2 separate regions of the Homo sapiens genome follow, and region 1 is linked to region 2. The links are contacts of gene promoters, found by promoter capture Hi-C in blood cells and fetal thymus (Javierre and others, 2016). All regions are on one chromosome and are shown on one strand. The core of a region is centred on a gene start or on the middle of the fragment in contact, and the rest is flanking DNA. Distances in the headings are between cores, read along the strand shown.

Region 1 (6,723 bases), core at 404-2,903, 2.0 Mb before region 2:
TTATGAGCGGAAGCAGCCTGAAGCCCTCACCAGAAGCAGATGCTGATGCCATGCTTCTTGTACAGGCTGTGAAACTGTGAGCGAAATAAGCTCTTTTTCTTAACAACTTACCCAGTTTTAGGTATTCCTTTATAGCAATACAAACATGGATTTAGATAGCACTGGAGCAAAAATGAACAGATCACAAGAGAAATGATTGGTAAATCTGACACATGAAAATTAAAAACTTGTATGTAAAAAAAGACACTGTAAACTAAGTTAAAAAATGACGACAAAAGGGAAAAAGATATTTCAAGACTTATAAGAAAAAGCATTCCTATCTAGAAACTGTAAACTCCTACAAGTCAATAAGAAGACAACGCAATTAAAAAATGGGCAAATAATATGAACAGGTAATTCACAGATGAGAAAACTCAAATAAACATATTAAAAGATGTCCAACCTCACTAGGAATGTGGGGAATTCAAACTAAAACAACAATGACCACATTTTATACTTCAAAATTTACAAGTCTATTAATACCAGGTTTTAGCTTGTAGAGAAAGAGGGAATTTTCATAAACTTCTGGCAGAAGTATAAATTGGTAAAACCACTTGGGAAAGCAATTTGGTAACACTTGGTAAAGAAAATAAACCTATCCACATTCAGGTATATTCCTTGACTTTTGCACATATGCATAAGGAGACATTATAAAGGTATTCATTACAGCAATGGAAACAACTAGATGAATGGCCACATAAATGACAAAATCCTATATGGTATCTAAAATGAATAAATATACCCAATACATATCAAAATATGATGTTCAGTGAAGAGCAAGTTTCACAATGTTTATTATTCAACTTGTATAAAAATATTAAGATATAGTTTATGCAGAAAAATATACAAATATGGACAGGAAAGATATAAGCCATCATCAGAATAGAGGTCATCTTTGGAGAGAGAAACATGGAGGGGATTGGAATAGGGGAAAGAAAAGAGGACATTCACTCTTCTCTGTAATATTTTATTTCATAAAAACAATTGCTGAAGCAAGCATGGCAAAATTAACATCTATCATTTGGAGTAATGAGGACATAAATATATATTATATTATCTTCTGTATTTTTTCTGCTTATTTTAATCATTTCATAACTAAGCAATAAAATAATAGCTGTACACTTTAAAGATAAATTAACGATAGATGCTCAAAACTAAAAATTTGAACTACTTAAAATATTTTATTTTCCAAAATAACAATTGATAAAAATTTTTTTAAAATTAAAAAACTGATTTAAAAAATAAAAAAGCTAAACATTACATAGCAGGACTTATAGAATATGGCCAATATGTTCTTTAGACAAAAATTGATTGTCTTTAATGCACTTACTTCAAGAGTTAATTCAGAATAATTCCTATAAAACCTGAGGCAAGTAGCTGAAGGAAATAACAAAGATGATTGTAGAAATCAATACTTTCAAAACTGGGTCTTTAGAAAAACAAAGAAAATAGAAAAATTTCTAGAACATTAAAGAGAACAAACAATAAAACCTAATAAGTGATATTAGAAATAAAAAAGGCATACCTACAGAAAGAAATAGAGAAGTAAAAATGAAAAGAGACTAATACACACACTGGTATGTGAACACATTTGAAAACAAAAAAAGAAATAAATCTTCTTAAAAATATACATATAAAACTTAAGAAGAAATAGGAAACCCAAATAAAAGGCAAACAAGGGAAAAATTAAGGATGGTATCAAAGGCTCTTGCATCGAATAGTATTATGAGTGAATTATTTAAGACGAAATACATATATATACCCACACATATATATATACACATATATACACACACACATATATATATACACACATATATATATATACATATATATATATGATTCCCCACCACAGAAAAATATGGAAAGCTACCCAGGTCATTTTCCAAAGCTAGCAAACCTTGAAATCTACATGTGTCAAAGATGGCATTAAAATGTTTCTATAGCTTTTTCTCACTTATAGGTATAGGGTGCACTAAAAAAGAATAATTAGCAATAGAATTAGCCAATATATTAAAATAATTCATCCTATGATAACAGTATGTTAACTTATCAGTAGAGCCAATAAGAAAAACACAGATGCAGCCTTAACAGGTCCTTAATCAGAGTTGGGATAAATTTTTTTTAATTATTATTTTTTTAACCTTATTTTTTTTAAATTTTACTTTGAGTTCTAGGATACATGTGCAGAACATGCAGGTTTGTTACATAGGTATACATGTGCCATGGTGGTTTCCTGTAGCCATCAACCCATCATCTAGGTTTTAAGCTCCACATGTATTAGGTATTTCTCCCACTGCTCTCCCTCCCCTTGCCCTCCACTCCCCAACAGGCCCCAGGGTGTGATGGTCCCCCACCGTGTCCATGTGTTCTCATTGCCCAACTCCCGCTTATGAGTGAGGACATGAGGTGTTTGGTCTTCTGTTCCTGTGTTAGTTTGCTGAGGATGATGGTTTCCAGCTTCATCCATATCCCTGCAAAGGACATGAACTCATTCTTTTTATGGCTGCATAGTATTCCATGGCATATATGTGCCACATTTTCTTTATCCAGTCTATCATTGATGGGCATCTGGGTTGGTTCTAAGACTTTGCTATTGTAAATAGTGCTGCAATAAACATACGTGTGCATGTGTCTTTATAGTAGAATGATTTATAATCCTTTGGGTGTATACGCAGTAATGGGATTGCTGGGTCAAATGGTATTTCTGGTTCTAGATTTTTGAGGAATCGCCACACTGTCTTCCACAATGGTTGAACTAATTTGCACTCCCAATAACAGTGTAAAAACATTCCTATTTCTCTACAGCCTTGCCAGCATCTTTTGTTTCCTGACTTTTTAATAGTCGCCATTCTAACCGGCATGAGATGGTATCTCATGGTGGTTTTGATTTGCATTTCTCTAATGACCAGTGACGATGAGCTTTTTTTCCATGTTTGTTGGCCAGATAGATGTCGTATTTTGAGAAGTATCTGTTCATATCCTTTGCCCACTTTTTGATGGAGTTGTTTGTTTGTTTTTCGTGTAAACTTGTTTAAGCTCCTTGTAGATTCTGGATATTTGACCTTCGTCAGATGGATAGATTGCAAAAATTTTCTCCCATTCTGTAGGTTTCTTGTTCACTCTGATGGTAGTTTCTTTTGCTGAGCAGAAGCTCTTTAGTTTAATTAGAACCCATTTGTCAATTTTGGCTTTGTTGTAATTGCTTTTGGTGTTTTAGCCATGAAGACTTTGCATATGCCTATGTCCTGAATGGTATTGCCTAGGTTTCCTGGAAGGGTTTTTATGGTTTTAGGTTTTACGTTTAACTCTTTAATCCATCTTGAGTTAATTTTTGTATAAGGTGTAAGGAAGGGATCCAGTTTCAGTTTTCGGCATATGGCTAGCCAGTTTTCCCAACACCATTTATTAAATAGGGAATCCTTTCCCCATTGCTTATTTTTGTCAGGTTTGTCAAAGATCAGATGGTTGTAGATGCTTGGTGTTATTTCTGAGGGCTCTGTTCTGTTCCATTGGTCTATATATCTGGTTTTGGTACCAGTATCATGCTGTTTTGGCTACTGTAGCCTTGTAATATAGCTTGAAGTCAGGTAGCATGAAGCTTTGTTATTTTTGCTTAGAATTGTCTTGGATATATGGGCTTTTTTTTTGGTTCCATATGAAATTTAAAGTAGTTTTTTCTAATTCTGTGAAGAAAGTCAAAGGTAGCTTGATGGGAATAGCATTGAATCTGTAAATTACTTTGGGCAGTATGGCCATTTTCATGATTCTTCCTATCCATGTTTTTCCATTTGTTCGTGTCCTCTCTTATTCCTTGAGTAGTGGTTTGTAGTTCTCCTTGAAGAGGTCCTTCATGCGCCTTGTAAGTTGTATTCCTAGGAATACAGCGTTGCTTTTATTGTTAATGGGATGGATAGATGGATAGTGTGTGAGATTTGTCTTTTTCTTTTTAAATTATATTTTCTGATTGATACATTGAAAAGCTACTAGGGTGTGTGTGTTTAATTCGAACAGACTTTTAATTGACTCTATGGGGTTTTTAAAATAAAATTTTCCTGGGCTCAAGTGATCCTCTTACTTCAGCCTCCCCAGTAGCTGGGACTACAGTTGCGTACCCCAGTCCAGCTATTTTTCGTGTGTGTTTCATGATGGGGTTTTGCCATATTACCAAGACTTGTCTCAAACTCCAGGGCTCAAGTAATCCTCCCACCTTGGCCTCCCAAAATGTCAGAATTATAGGTGTGAGCCAATGAGCCTGGCCCAATATTATTTCTGATAGCTTGGCCAGTCCATTGGAAGGAACCATTTGTTTCAACTTCTCAAAGCATTAGTGCCTTGGTGGACATAGCTTCCAGACCTTGCATTGGAATACTAGCAAAGTCTAAGAGGGATTCAGTCTTTAATTTCATAATATAACAGCCTGATAATTCTGTATATAGGAGCCATGTAGATGAGATACTTTTTTAGAACCTATACTTACTCAGTGTATTATGTTTCTGTTACAATAGCTTTTTTGAGAAATAATTCCTGTATCATACAAAATTCACTATTTAAAGTGTGTAATTCAGGAGTTTTTAATATATTCATGGAGTCGTACAAGCACTATCTAATTCCAGAACATTTTCATCACTCCTAAAAAACCCATACCCATTAGCAGTAATTCCCCTCTTTCCTTCCCCCAGCCCCTAGTAACCACTAATCCAGTCTCTGTCTCTACTGATTTGTCTATTCTGGGCATTTTATATAAATGGAATCATACAGTATTTGTCCTTTTGTGACTAGCTTTTTTTCACTTAGCATAATGTTTTCAAGGTTCATCCATGTGGTAGCATGTATCATTACTTCATTATTTTCTATTGTCAAATAAGATTCTATTGCATGAATATATAATATTTTGTTTGCACATATTATATTTTGCTTATTCATTTATCAGATGGAGGTCACTTCAATTATTTCCACTTTTATGGCCATATGCTGCCATGAATATTTATGTATAAATTTTTATGTAGACATATGTTTTCACTTATCTTGGGCATAAACCAAATAGTTAATTTACAAGTTCTAGTGTAATTTTATGTTTAACATTTTTGGGAGCTCCAAAACTGTTTTTTTAAAGTGACTGTGTAAGTTGGGCATGGTGGCTCATGCCTGTAATCCCAGTGCTTCAGAAGGATCACTTCAGGCCAGGAGTTTGATACCTGCCTAGGCAACATAGCTAGAGCCTTCTCTACAATACATAGATACATACAAAGTGACTGTGCCATTTTATAATTCATCTAGCAATGTATGAGGGTGACAGTTTCTCCACATTCTTGTCAACATTTGTTATAGCTCTTCTTTTTAAATTTTAGACATTTTAGTGGGTCTGAGAGAAATAATACACTGTATTATTTTTATTCTTTTGAAATTGTTAAGGTATGTTTTATGGCAGAGAATGTGGTCTACCTTAGTGAATGTTCCATATGAGCTTGAGAAGAATGCACATTCTGTTGTTGAAGTAATGTAGAGATGTCAATTATATTCAGTTAATTGATGATGTTTTTGAGTTCAACTATGATGTTTTTGAGTGCATGCGTCCTTACTGATTTTCTGTCTGCAAGATCTGTTCATTTCTGAAAGAGGGGTGTTGAAGTTACCCAACTATAATAGTGGATTCTTCTACTTCTTTCTGCAGAGCTATCGGTTTTATCTCATATTTTCATGCTCTGTTGTTAGGCATGTGCACATTATGGATAGTTATGTCTTTTTGGAGAACTGATCCATATCACTATGTAATGCCCCTCATTCTCCTTGATAACTTTTCTTGCATTGAAATTTTCTCTGTCTGAAATTAGTTTAGCTTGATTAACATTAGCATGGCATATCTTTCTGTATCACTTTACTTTTAATCCATATGTGTATATTTCAAGTGAGTTTCTGGTAGACAACATATAGTTGGGTCTTGTTTTTTGATCCACACTGACTGTCTTAACCGGTATATTTGTACCATTAATGTTTGAAATGATTATTAATATCTATCACATTTTTTTTACTATTTTCTATTCATTGCTCTTGTCCTTTATTTCTATTTTTGTCTTCCAACCTTTGTTTCTATTTTTGTCTTCCAATCTTTTTCTTCCTTTTGTGGTTTTAATTGATGATTTTATTTGATTCTACTTTTTTGTTAGCATATCAATTATATTTTTTAAAAGTCTTTTAGTTACCCTAGAGTTGTAATATGCATTTATGATTAATTCAAGTCCACATTCAGATAACTCCATGCTACTTCATGGGTGGTGCAAGTACTTTATAATAAAAAGGATTCCTAATTTCTCCTTCCCACCCCATGCATTATTGCTGTCATTCATTTCACTTGTACATAAACTATAATAATTGAATATATTGTTGCTATCATTATTTTGGCCAAAGTTTTAATTGTTAGGTAATTAAGAGTAAGAGAAACAAGGCCAGGCTGTGTGGCTCATGCTTGTAATCTCAGCACTTTGGGAGGCTGAGGCAGGAGGATTGCTTGAGGCCAGAAGTTTGAGACCAGTCTTAGCAATATAATGAGACCTACTCTCTACTAAAAAATAAAAACATTAGCTGGGTGTGGAGGCATGTGTCTGTAGTCCCAGCTACTTGGGAGGCTGTGGCAGGAGGATTGCTTGAGCCCAAGAGTTCAAGGTTGCAGTGAGCTATGATCAT
Region 2 (6,631 bases), core at 4,132-6,631:
AGGGTGTGTAGTAAAAGGGATAAATAGGCTGTTTGAAGTCAACAACCTCTTTCCAGATCTTTTAAGAGCCAATTATTCTGCCAAAATGACTGGAGTGCTTAGTACAATACCTGACATGTAGAGTTATCATTAAAAGTTTGCAATTAGTACTACTGTCTCAGTGTTTGCAAAAGGCCACAAAACGGTCTTGTGTCCTTTTCCTGTGTGTTTAAGGTAGATTGCCTTTTCACAGGGTCACTGCTCTGACAATTTGGGATGGAGGAAGAGGAGTGCACAAGGGTCCTTCCTCAAGACCTTTACGTCAAGCACCCCGGAGGGCCCCTGCAGGAGCTGGGGCAGTACAGCCTGGCCCCGACGCCCGCACCGGGCAGATACCGGGAGCGGCCCGCCAGGCCCCCGGGGCTGCGGGGCGGGGATCAGGGGATGAGGCAGCGCGGCCTGCGCTCCGGGTGTCCCCCTCCCAGCCCCCCGGGCCCGCTGCGGCTGGTCCCCTAGGCCTGGGGTGGGGGGAGGCGGGGGTCCCCGGAGAGGGCCCCGGCCTCCCGGCAGCACTAACTTCTCAGCCAGCAGCTCCTCTATTCTCCTTCTTTTCTTCTCCCTAAAAGAGAGAATAAAAGAAGGGTCAGCATCGCGCTACACACTGGGCGCCGCGAGGGGAGGGGGGCGAGGGGACGGGGCGGGGGGTGTGGGGACCCCGGGTGGCGGCGGCAACCGCCCACCGCCGCGCTCTCTCACAACCCAGCCCAGCCCGGCGCGTCTGCAGAGCCCCGGTACTTACGGCTCCTCGCCATCCGCCATATTGTTCTCCGCCTCTTCCCAGGTGCCCACGCGCGGCAGGGCGGGGAGGAGCGGGACTGGCAAAGCGGGGAGGGGCGGGGCTGGCGAAGCGGGGAGGGGCGAGGCCAGAAACACAACCGGCAGGGAGGTGCGAGGTTGACTGCGGCTGGGCTCCCATGGGCTTTAAAGTCTTGCCCTGTAATTATAATCTTAATTACCTACGCTTAATTAGGTGAATCTTATACCGTGCATAATGTTGCTCTGCAGCGTGAAAATGTAGACAATACATTATGCGTTTACACAAACTATATGTTAATACGTAATTATACAAAATATTGGTATATTCTATGAAAAATTCGTGAAGAACCCTCCCAGTATGCCAGAGCTTTCCTCTGGGGGCAAAGATCAAGGAAATTTTCACTTTCTGCTTTTCAGGATGGTTCCAAAGTCTTTGCCTTTATAAGTACTCACTTGAATAATAAATTTATCTAAATCCGTTTACATTGGTGGGGTGGGAGATTATTATTTTCTTTGAACAAATCAGCATTAATATTTTCATGTCACATTCTGTTAGATAAGTTCAGCGGAAACAAAATGATTAAAACTTTTCCTGAGATAAATGTGTATATTTAGATACAAAGAAAAAAGTATAAAGGAAAACAATCACAAAAATCAAAGAATAACTGAGAACACCCATAATCCTATCACCTAAAGATAAATTGTGATAAAAGTTTCAATTATTTTCTTCTAGAGTCAGAAATACAAATATACACTGTGAATCTGGATGGCTGGATAGAGGGAAATGATCATGTTCAAAAATGTATGTATATACACGTACACACACATCTCCTTCTATGGAGTGGGACAAGAATGATATTTGGAATCAAAAGTAACTGATTTTAAATTCTTCTCAGTTGTGAGCTACGAAACCCTTAGACACTTCTATTTCTTCATTTATAAAGTGGGCATAACACTATTCACCTTGTAAGACTGATAATTAAGTAAAATCCAGAGTGGCTCTCAAAATACAGTTCCTGATCAACATCACTTGGGAAGTTTTTTTTAACACAAATTTTCACCCCTCACCGCCCCCACCACGCTCCCCACCGCCCCCCCGCCACCCCACCCTTCAGCCTTCTGCAAAGCCTGGGGTGATTCTCCACTGGTAAAGTTTGAGGGCCACTGAAATGGAGTACATAAAGCCTGATGGGTACTCAGTAAATGTAGCTGCTGTTACTACACTGTGATATTTAACCTCCTCTTGTCCTAGTTTTCAGTGAACCTTAAGGAAAGCTTGTCCTTTATGGTCCCCCAATTAGGTTCAGTTCAATAGCATTCACTGAGCTGAAAGTCAATGCCAGGCAGTGAGCGTGGGAATAGAGTTCACAGTCCCTATCAAGAGATACCAGCCTCCTTCTGCATCACATGTCTCAGCGTCAACTATGAAACTACTTTTTCTTGCCCAGACAACTCCACAGATGGTTTCACTGAGGATTTAACCTCAGTGCTTATCAAAATGGGCTCCTGTAGCCTGAACCCCCAACAATACTGGATACCCTTTGATTAGTGGTAGTGAGCATTGCAACCCTCTCAGATAGTGAAAAGCAGCAGTCACCTTAAAGGCCACCTAGTCCAGTCTCACCCATTTCACAGGGGAGGAAACTGAGGCCTAGGGATAGAGTACAGCTAGCCGATGAAGAAGTCTGCAAAGGTATCTGGCCCTGCATCTGCTTGCTTTGAGACTAACAGCCTGACTCACCATGGTGGTATTTTGATAAACGACACCAGGCACTCTCACTGGCTTAGATTGATTGACGGATTAGAAATAGCCATCTGCCCTTGCCAGGAATGAAAGCAACAGAGACATGCAAGCAAAACCTTCAACAGATTTATTTTACTTCAAATGGAACATATCATAAACAATTAGACTATCTGCTATGGTTTTTAAACAGACAGATAGTCTGAATGGTCCTATCTAGACACACCAGTCCCATTATAAAAGCCCCATCAAGCAGGGCTCGGCTTCCCACACCTGTAGTCCCGGCTACTTGGGAGGCTGAGGTGGGAGGACTGTTTGAGCCCAGGAGTTTAAAACCAGCCTGGGCAACATAGTGAGACCCTGTCTCTAAAAATAATAATAAATTAAAGCTCCAGAAAGACCTCTACAGTGAATCTGACCCCTCCCTCCCCGGAATGAACACTAACAAAGAGCTGCTACTAATAGCATTTCAAACAGTTACTGGAAAAAAGTAATGACTCATTACATGTTCATTTTTATTTAAAATAATTTAACAAAGGTAGAAATATTTAGAGAAAAAAAAAATCTCCCATACCCCAAAGAGAGAGACAGGGTTAACATTTTGGGAGGGAGACAGAAGGGAATCATGCTATAAACAGCTTTCTCTGTCTTTTCAGAATTTATTTATTTATGTTTAAACCTCTAAAGAGGTTTAATTCTTTCTTGGGTATCAATTGCCTGTGATCAAGGAGTAATCATATTGTTACTAATACACTCTTGACAGCTTTTGGTCATGCAGTTCTGAGCAGTTGGAAGATAAAGTTCTTAGTTACAGCTTCTAATACTCATAAATCTCACCAACAGTGTGGGGCCCCACTGGAGTTCCCACTCTCATCTTGACCAAGATGATTTACTCAGCTTGCCCACAGTGCTGCCTCTTGACATTCTGAAGCCCTGGGGAATTCCTCCACACCCTCTGACTTCCTGTAACTGAGCACTGAGGCTCAGTGCATCTCTATTTAGCACTCCTCTTACTGTCTCATATTTAACTAGTGTTTCCACTGGATTGCAGAAGTTTTGAAGGCAGAGCAGGATTACATTTTTCTCCTCTTTAAAAAAAAAAAGAAAAGAAAAGAAAAAAAACCCACAGTGCTTTCACAGAGCCTCAAAAGAACTCGAAATACTTGCTGGCATTGTACTGAATATTCTCAACCTTTTCCCCCTACCCAGATACATCCACAACAATAAAGTTGGAGCAAGGTAGAGAAAAGTTAGTAGATGTTTATAATGAAAGCATAGAAAACAAATCAGATTAAAGCACTATTAATAGCAAACAAGAATCGTGGGCTATCCTATTGCTAATAACAATAATAGTAACATATAACTGTGAACCTTTATTATACACTAAGCATTTCCTATACATTCCTTCACTTAGCCTCGTCTATATGGCAGATGTTCCATTATCCCCACTTTACACATGAAGACACCGAGGCTGGGAGAGATTAAGTAGTTTCTCCAAAGTCACCTGCCAGAGAGGAAGGAGCTGCGACTCTAATTTTGCTTTCTCTGACTTCACACCATCCCATTTTTCCAGAATCAAGAAAACATGAGCACTCAGGAATATTTTCACATTTTAAACTTTATTCAAAAAGCAGCACATAAGATATATCTTAGCACTAATTCCATGCAATCACCAAATTTTCCTAAACAACAGTAGTAGTAGTAATTTCTTAGAGTCGCTGTAAGCTCCTTAACTGTCTTCTGAATTAATAAGGAAAATTAAATTATGTTTTCTAGACTTTGCATTAGTATATTTCATTACTTTCCAAGTTTTCAAAAATTGGTGATCTGAGTAGAGTGAATTCACCTTGTCTAAGCCACTTAGGGGCTTAGAGACTCTGTTATCTTAGAAATCTTCACCTTAGAATTCTACCTATTACATTATACAATTAAACAAACTACTTTTTTTCTCATGCATTGTACCAATCAGCCCCTTAACTGAAAAAAGATGACCCTTGGAAGCTTAGAAGAGAATTGACAACGAATACTTCTTTTGCCAGGTCTTTGGGCTGGGATACAAAACATCACGTTATCTATGAATATATTGTGGTCCCTCAGTGAAAGCTGTCACCAAATATTGCAATAAAACTAAGAAAACTTTTGAAGTGGAATGCATATTTCTGCCCAGAAAATGCTGGATGCAGAACAACTAGTTCACTGCAGACAACTGTTTGCTTTAAAATGTAAGCAACATGCCCAGCTCAGGACTGAAGTGGCCAGAGTGCCTACTTTATCAGAATGGCATAGCAGTCCAACAATTTAGCCTAGAGAGAACAGAGGTGGAGAACAAAGAAGAGAAGTGAAAAAAACAGACCAGCCCTTCTGTTCTACATGACCTTCTTTCCCGTTTTGCCAATCTGATTTCACACATAGTGACTCATGGTGAAACAGAGAAAACATGGGAATTGCATTCAGATGTGTAGAGGTTAGTAAGACTTAGTTTTCAAAAGCAGCTCATTCTCCATTAACACTGTAGTCGCCTTCCATTTCATTTCACTTAGATTGGCATCTGCACAGCTGCCAAAATTTTTCTCTAAGTCAGAGAACACACTCCTAGGTAAACCTTCAAAAAAGGTATTTCGAAGGAGGCAGCTTCTCTGCTGCTAGAGAAGGCATTGCCACCTCCCTTCAGACAGGGGATTTCCGCTAGTTGCTTTCTGTCATTTCGTCTCTATTCTGCACTCAGTCCCTTGTTCTGTCTGGAGGTTCCTGTTTTCCTGTACCCAACCAAGAGCCAATGAAGAAGTAAAGAGGAGCAAACACGCCCGCCCACTCCCAATTTCCTTTGCTCTGCTGTCTGCCAACCGCAAAGCCGACCGAGACGGAGCCGCTGTCAACTCTCCAACTCAGCTCAGCTGATCGGTTGCCGCCGCCGCCGCCGCCAGATTCTGGAGGCGAAGAACGCAAAGCTGAGAACATGGACGTTAATATCGCCCCACTCCGCGCCTGGGACGATTTCTTCCCGGGTTCCGATCGCTTTGCCCGGCCGGACTTCAGGGACATTTCCAAATGGAACAACCGCGTAGTGAGCAACCTGCTCTATTACCAGACCAACTACCTGGTGGTGGCTGCCATGATGATTTCCATTGTGGGGTAAGTGGGGTCCCCCTACCCGGGACACCGATCCGGGGCGAGCACGGAGGGGCCTCGGGGTGCAAGATCCCGGGATGTAGAGACGCTCTCTGACCACGCTCAGCGCCTGCCCTGGCAATTCTGCAAGCGGCCAAGCCAGTGGAAACTTGTTTGCAGGGCGAGGCCGCAGTAACCTGGGGCCCCATTTTCTGCACCAAGGGCTGAGACTTGAGGGGGGCCCTAGGGGAAAGAGGACGGGGAAAATTTGCCAGCCGCAGGGAAGAAAAATGAGAGTTCCCCCACCCCCCTGCCCCCGCCCGCGTGCCAGGATCGGGCTCTTGCTGGAAAGATATTTGTAGCGCCCTCGTCTTTTAAAAATAAGAAGAAAAAGGAAAGTGGTGTAACCCTACCCTGGAGCTGGCTGGGGCGGCAGGGTGTGGACCCGGGCTAGTGTAAAAAGGGCAACCAAGTGGCGACGCACTTTGCTGCTTTCTCTGCCTAATGCCTGCCACACTGTACAGTAAAGCTGAGCTTGGGATCAAAAGGGGGGGTGTCTCCTGGTGGCGCATCTCCCATTGTGGGGTAAAGGCTGCCATGACTGTGGGAAGATGGCCTTCTGGCATTTTCTTCCAGCAGTGGCCAGGCGTGGTCACTTTCTCTGTCTTCGCTTCCTAGCCTGAGGTTTCAATGTATCAGAAGGCCTTTTCAATACCTGATACTTAACAAAGTATCCTGTGTTGAGACTGCATGTACACCTGCTTTCCTAGAAACCACCTTTCCTTCTAGTTCACCCTTTAAGAAATGCTTCTCTCGCTTATGCAGGATGGGTGGTGATATTCTCAATCTTGCTGATTATCTCCTACACATCTTTAAAGAAAAAGCCACCCTCAGACTTTATAAAGGACTCACTTGCACTTAAATGTCTGACATTTCTATTTCAGGGCAGACGTAGAGGGAAGAAGCAGCAAGCTGGCTTGGGAGAAA

What was found. The method cuts DNA at HindIII sites, captures the fragments that hold promoters and counts their contacts. A CHiCAGO score of 5 or more calls a contact.
Region 1: a contact is called between a fragment that was not itself captured here and the fragment with the promoter of ARL6IP5 in region 2, in 1 of 17 cell types (total B cells). The highest score is 10.3, in total B cells.

The regions. Positions count from the first base shown.
Region 1 is chr3:67,050,198-67,056,920 of GRCh38, forward strand. No RefSeq gene overlaps it. Among named protein-coding and RNA genes, the nearest start is that of KBTBD8, 55 kb to the left of the region's middle. The HindIII fragment of the contact is 3,970 bases long and covers 1-3,638 here.
Region 2 is chr3:69,079,556-69,086,186 of GRCh38, forward strand. ARL6IP5 (ARF like GTPase 6 interacting protein 5) reads left to right here and starts at 5,382. Exons shown (of 3, transcript NM_006407.4): 1 at 5,382-5,668. The coding sequence starts at 5,493. It overlaps UBA3 (ubiquitin like modifier activating enzyme 3), which reads right to left and starts at 810. Exons shown (of 18, transcript NM_003968.4): 1 at 779-810; 2 at 557-598. The coding sequence starts at 798. RefSeq lists silencers at 289-518, 639-728, 849-918 and enhancers at 2,522-2,581, 3,386-3,545, 5,153-5,462. The HindIII fragment of the contact is 15,418 bases long and covers 4,536-6,631 here.